Linked DNA regions of Homo sapiens: region 1 is linked to region 2. Evidence: promoter capture Hi-C in 16 types of primary human blood cells and fetal thymus (Javierre and others, 2016). All regions are on one chromosome and are shown on one strand. Each heading gives the region's core, a stretch centred on a gene start or on the middle of the fragment in contact. The rest is flanking DNA. Distances are from core to core; before and after follow the strand shown.

Region 1 (2,752 bases), core at 99-2,598, 810 kb before region 2:
TTGACACTGAATATGATCTAACCAGAATTACAATATCAGGGAGATGGGTGAGAGGAAGTAAATTCATGGTGGGCAGGAGGAAGAGAGGATTCAAAAGATAATGGTGGCCGGGTGCAGTGGCTCACACCTATAATCCCAGCAGGCCGAGGCGGGCAGATCACTTGAGCCCCGGAGTTCAAGACCAGCTTGGGCAACATGGCAAAACCCTGTCTCTACAAAAAATACAAAAATTAGCTAGGCATGGTGGTGTGCACCAGTATTTCTAGCTACTCAGGAGGCTGAGGTGGGAGAATCACCTGAGCCCGAGAAGGTTGAGGCTGCAGTGAGCCATGATTGTGCCATTGCACTCCCGCCTGGGGAAGAGTGAGACCGTCTTAAAACAAGCAAACAAAAAACCATCAAGGAATAGTCATGAAAACATGTTCATATTGAGACATGGAGGTAAATACAAACAAATCAGCCAAGAGTTGGACAGACTACTGTGAGGCAAGGAAAGTGGGGTAAAGGCAGGGTAGGAGGGCTACTGTTTTTCATAATAAACCTTATGGAACAACTTGTTTTCAATCTGCGTCAACTGATTTTCCCCCCTAAGATGCAGGATATAAAACTGTTTACAAAGCTACATATTTTAGGTTGATCCCCCTTCACTTTTCAGATCTAGGTAGGGTTATAGCCAGTTTCCATTGCGTGGAGAATCTGCAAGGCTGGTGTTCCTGTACGGGTCCAGAGTGAACTACATCAAAAGTCGCTTTTGATATCGAGGATGCAGTTCACTACTATTAAGTGTAATGTGTTATTATTCAAAGTAAGTACTGTTTACTGTAAAAGTATGATGAATTCAGTAATGATTATACTAAAATAACATACTAGTACAGGGTCAAAATACGGCTTTAGGTCTACTTAAGATAGAATACTTAAGAATTACTTATCTGGGGACCAGGGAATTGTTTAAAATGCAGATTCCTGGGCCCCACTCCAGGTGTGCGGCTTGCAGTCTTCATTTCTAATAAGATCCTTAGTTGATGTTGAAAACCACTGCTTTCATTTGTTTTTTATTTAAGAGACAGGGTCTCACTGTCATCCAGGCTGGAGTGCAGTGGTGCAATTATAGCTCACTGCAGCCTTAATCTCCTGGGCTCATGTGGTCGTCCTGCCTCAACCTCCAGGATAGCTGGGACTGCAGGCATCAGCTGTGCCCAGCTACTTTTCAATTTTTTGTAGAGATGCGGTCTTGGTTAACAAAGCTTAACAGCCCAGGCTAGTCTCAAACTCCTAGGTTCAAGTGATCCTCCCGCCTCGACCTCCCAAAGTGCTGGCATTATAGGCGTGGGGCACCATGTTTGGCCTGAAGCCCTATTTTAAACGTCTATTGTATCTGACCAACTCACTGATGCTTATTCCTCAGAATACCAGCTCTGTAACCTCCAGGTAGTATCATAAGACAAAGCTTATTAGAACCTCATTAATTGATGCCAGGTTAACTAATGTGCTGGATTTTTTTCCCCTCCTCTTTCATTACTTGAATAATCTGTTCAATGAGCAATATTCTAAAAGCCAATAATTGATCAGTTTTCCTCTTGATGGCTTATGCTGTAGCTCATACCATAATGAATACCTGGCAAGACCTCTTTTTGGTGATTTGATTTTTTCAGGCTGCTTTTCCAGTTTCTGTGTTTTTGTCACAATTATTCACCCTGTGTATCTTATACTCTTTACTACTACTTATTTTTCTTTAAAGACAAAGTCTTGCTCTTTTGCCCAGGCTGGAGTACAGTGGCAAGGTCATAGCTCACTGCAGCCTCATACTCCCAGGCTCAAGTGATCCTCCCACCTCAGCCTCCCTAGTAGCGAGGACTACAGGTGTGCACCACCATGCCAAGTTAATTTTTAGAATTTTTTGTAGAGACAGGGTCTCACTATGTCTCGCGGGCTGGTTTTGAACTCCTCTCAAACAATCCTCTACCTCAGCCTCCCAGAGTGCTGGAAGCAAGCCACTGTGCTGAGCTGCTGGTCACCCTTCCTACATTAACAACTATGGATGTGCCAATCAATGCTGAGATGCTCTGATATGCTCCCAAGAATCTGTTTCCACAAATCACCACAAAACTACTTGTTGTAGCCAGTATACGAGCCAAGGAAGCTGGCCACTAGGATCCCCTGAATTACTTTTTTTTTTTTGAGGTGCAGTCTCGCTCTGTCACCCAAGCTGGAGTACAGTGGCATGATCTCTGCTCACTGCAATGTCCACCTCCTGGGTTCAAGCGAATCTTCTGCCTCAGCCTCCCGAGTAGCTGGGACTACAGGTACATGCCACCGCACCCGGCTAATTTTTTTATTTTTAGTACACACGAGGTTTCACCATATTGGCCAGGCTGGTCTCGAACTCCTGACCTCGTGATCCGCCCGCCTTGGCCTCCCAAAGTGCTGGGATTACATGCGTGAGCCGCCGCACCCAGCCCCTGAATTACCTATGACTTTATCAAGGGAAAGAGTCACCTGTGTTGTTAAAGCTGAGCTGATGACAGCTCCACAAATGTTAACTGAACAAAGTGCCACACTATGTGCCTGTGTCTGAAGATGAATGAGACACAATCTGTGTGTTCTCGGAGCTTCTCCAAGGTGAACTTTTCTGGGGCTTAACCTGCAACTGGCCAGGAACAGCAGCTTAAAATCTCATCAATAGCTGTGCTATTTCAAAGTACTGGCATTCTCCCAGGACATCCCCCAGGGTGTCAAAATTTAGCCAAAGCAA
Region 2 (3,203 bases), core at 47-2,546:
ATCCTCAGCCAGGAGAGCAATGGTCGCTGGGAGGACATGGAGAGAGACTGGGCAGGGCTGGCACCCCTGCCTGGGACCCCTCAGCCCCTCCTTCTCCTCCCTGTCTCCTCACCATCTGGGGGCAACCCTGCTTTCTGCCTCAGGTGGGCGGTGAGGTTCACCAGCCTGCAAGAGGTGTTCACCAGCACCGAGCAGCCAGCTGTGGAGAGGGGCAAAGGTGAGCCTGTGAGATCTCTTACCTTCCTCCAAATCGGGGTCCTCTGTCTCTCCCTCCCATCTCTCCCTTTCCCAGAGCTGCGACTGGGCCTATGGGCTAAGACTGTGCCCCGGGCATAACAGCTCCAACATCTGTTGCTTAAACTGCCTTGGAGAACCCTCCATCCATCTCCCATGTGTGGTGACTTTTCTCCCATGTGTGGTGACTCCCAAGTGTTGGTCTCTTGAGTCCTGCAAAGCACGAAGTGGGCGCCAGCCCAGCCTCCTCCCGGGACCCGCCCCCACGGGACCCAGCCAGTCCCCGCCCTCCGCACCCACCGGCTCCTCTCTTCCCTTCCGCTACCGCACAGGGCCGACCCGCCTCCAGCCAGAGGCACGGGGACCCTGCAACTGTGGCTAGAGTTTCAGGTGTCTGATGCACGCTGAAGCTTGAGGATCACGGATTGAATGGCGAAGAGATTGTGCGGCTTAAAAACCTGCTCCAGGGTAATGCGGCGGTCTCTGGCCGAGAGGAACCCTTGTGAATGAGCAGGACTCAGCTCGGGTTTTCCCTTTAAGGGACTCGCTCCAGGTGCTGGCTTCGCCTCCTCACAGAGCCGCTTCCCCGACGACCCCCGCCATGTGCACCACCCCCCTTTCCCGCCATTGCCTCCCCACCCACCGCAAGGGCGGAAGGAAGCACGCCTCTGAGTGTGCTCATCCCCCTATCCGCCTACCAAGACAGGGGACCCCACTTACCCCCAAACATCACCTTGATAAACATAGCTGCAGCGGGTGAGGGAGATGTGGGGGGCTTTGATCCCCCAACTCTCGATTCCCCAACTAAGGAAAAGCGTGGAGCAGAGACCTGCTTCAGGGCCGGGCTCTGGAGGGAGAAGTGGATGTGTGAGTGTGGATGGCTGGGTCCCAGGGCCAGGCCCCTGCTCAGCCACCTCTGTGGTTCTGCTGCTTCAGCCTAGCTCAAACCCTGCAGCTAGTCCAAGACTCCTGGCCTCCTCTTCCTCCCCACTGAGCCCTGGGCCACAGCAGCTCCCCTAAGCTTCCAAGCTGGTCTCCATGGCAGTGGGGGCGGAGACATCTAGGCAGGAAATGCCTTCCTCCCTGTATCCGTTAACGGGGCCCATGGGGGAGAGGTGACAGAAGAAGTGGGGGCTGGCATTCCCTGAGGCGGGGAATGCCATCATTGGGATTGATTTTTTTTAGAGACAGTCTCCCTATGTTGCCCAGGCTGGTCTCGAACTTGGCTCAAGCAATTCTCCAGCCCCAGCCTCCCACAAGTGCTGGGATTGCAGTTGTGAACCACTTGTACAGTAAAGTTCACCCTTTCTGGTGTTTTAAAGTTATGCCAACTCTCATATAACCACCACCACAGTCAAGATACAGAACATTTCCATCACCCCCAAATTCCTTTGCCCCCTTTGTACTCAGCCCTAGTCGCTTCCAGGTCCATAGCAGGTCACAAGCACCTCCTTGTTAGCACTGGCCACTAGCTAGTCCCTCACACCGGTTCTCACCGTCATTTCCTGTCTTTTATTTATTTATTTATTAAGTTTATTAATTATTATTATTATTGGTGTTTTTTAAATTTTTATTTTTTGAGATGGAGTCTCCCTGTCACCCAGGCTAGAATGCAGTGGTACGATCTCGGCTCACTGCAACCTCCGCCTCCCGAGTTCAAGCGATTCTCCTGCCTCAGCCTCCCAAGTAACTGGGACTACAGGTGTGCACCACTACACCTGGCTAGTTTTTTTTTTTTTTTTTTTTTTTTTTGAGACGGAGTCTCGCTCCCTCGCCCAGGCTGGAGTGCAGTGGTGTGACCTCGGCTCACTGCAAGCTCCGCCTCCCGGGTTCACGCCTTTCTCCTGCCTCAGCCTCCTGAGTAGCTGGGACTACAGTCGCTCGCCACCACGCCCAGCTAATTTTTTTTGTATTTTTAGTACAGACGGGGTTTCACCATGTTAGCCAGGACGGTCTCAATCTCCTGACCTCGTGATCTGCCCGCCTCGGCCTCCCAAAGTGCTGGGATTACAGGATTACAGGCGTGAGCCACTGCGCCCGGCCTTTTTTTGTATTTTTAATAGAGATGGAGTTTCACCATATTGGTCAGATTGGTCTCGAACTCCTGACCTCAAATGATCCGCCCATCTTGGCCTCCCAAAGTGCTGAGCCACCAAGCCTGACCTATTTATTTTTTTTTGAGAATGAGTCTCGCTCTGTCAGCCATGCTGCAGTGCAGTGGCGCAATCTCGGCTCACTGCAACCTCCGCCTCTCGGGTTCAAGCGATTCTCCTGCCTCAGCCTCCGGAGTAGCTGGTATTACAGGCGCCAGCCACCACCCCTGGCTAATTTTTTGTATTTTTAGTAGACATAAGGAAGGCCAGGCTGGTCTCGAACTCCTGACCTCAGGTGATCCACCTGCCTGAGCTTCTCAAAGTGCTGTGATTATAGGAATGAGCCACTGTGCCCGGCCATTTCGGCCATTTCGTGTCTTTTGTATTTGTCTGCTTCTCCCAGTCTCTCCCCTTCTTGTTCCCCTCCTCTCCGTCTTCCTTTTCTGTCTAGGCTTCACATTCTCTCTCCCCTCCCCTCCTCTCCCCTCCCCTCCCCTCCCTCCTTTCCCTTTTTTCCTTTCTCTTCCTCCCTCCCTCTCTCCCTCCCTCCCTTCCTTCCTTCCTTTCTTTTTTTGACAGAGTTTTGCTCTTGTTGCCCAGGCTGGAGTACAATGGTGCAATCTCAGCTCACCGCAACCTCCGCCTCCTGGGTTCAAGCGATTCTCCTGCCCCAGCGTCCCAAGTAGCTGGGATTACAGGCATGTGCCACCACACCTGGCTAATTTTGTATTTTTAGTAGAGACAGGGTTTCTCCATGTTGGCCAGGCTGGTCTCGAACTCCTGACCTCAGGTGATCTGCCCCCCCTCGGCCTCCCAAAGTGCTGGGATTACAGGCGTGAGCCACTGCGCCCGGCTGGCTGGCTTGCTTTCTCGCTC

The links. Contacts are between HindIII fragments. The CHiCAGO score rates a contact against its expected background, and 5 or more counts as called.
Region 1: a contact is called between a fragment that was not itself captured here and the fragment with the promoter of C22orf15 in region 2, in 2 of 17 cell types (monocytes and neutrophils). The highest score is 5.2, in monocytes.

Annotation. Positions count from the first base shown.
Region 1 is chr22:24,572,187-24,574,938 of GRCh38, reverse strand. It overlaps SNRPD3 (small nuclear ribonucleoprotein D3 polypeptide), which reads right to left. Exons shown (of 4, transcript NM_004175.5): 4 at 1-2,752. Among named protein-coding and RNA genes, the nearest start is that of SNRPD3, 18 kb to the right of the region's middle. The HindIII fragment of the contact is 203 bases long and covers 1,247-1,449 here.
Region 2 is chr22:23,761,083-23,764,285 of GRCh38, reverse strand. It overlaps C22orf15 (chromosome 22 open reading frame 15), which reads right to left and starts at 1,296. Exons shown (of 6, transcript NM_182520.3): 1 at 955-1,296; 2 at 113-199; 3 at 1-26. The coding sequence starts at 979. The HindIII fragment of the contact is 2,909 bases long and covers 1,258-3,203 here.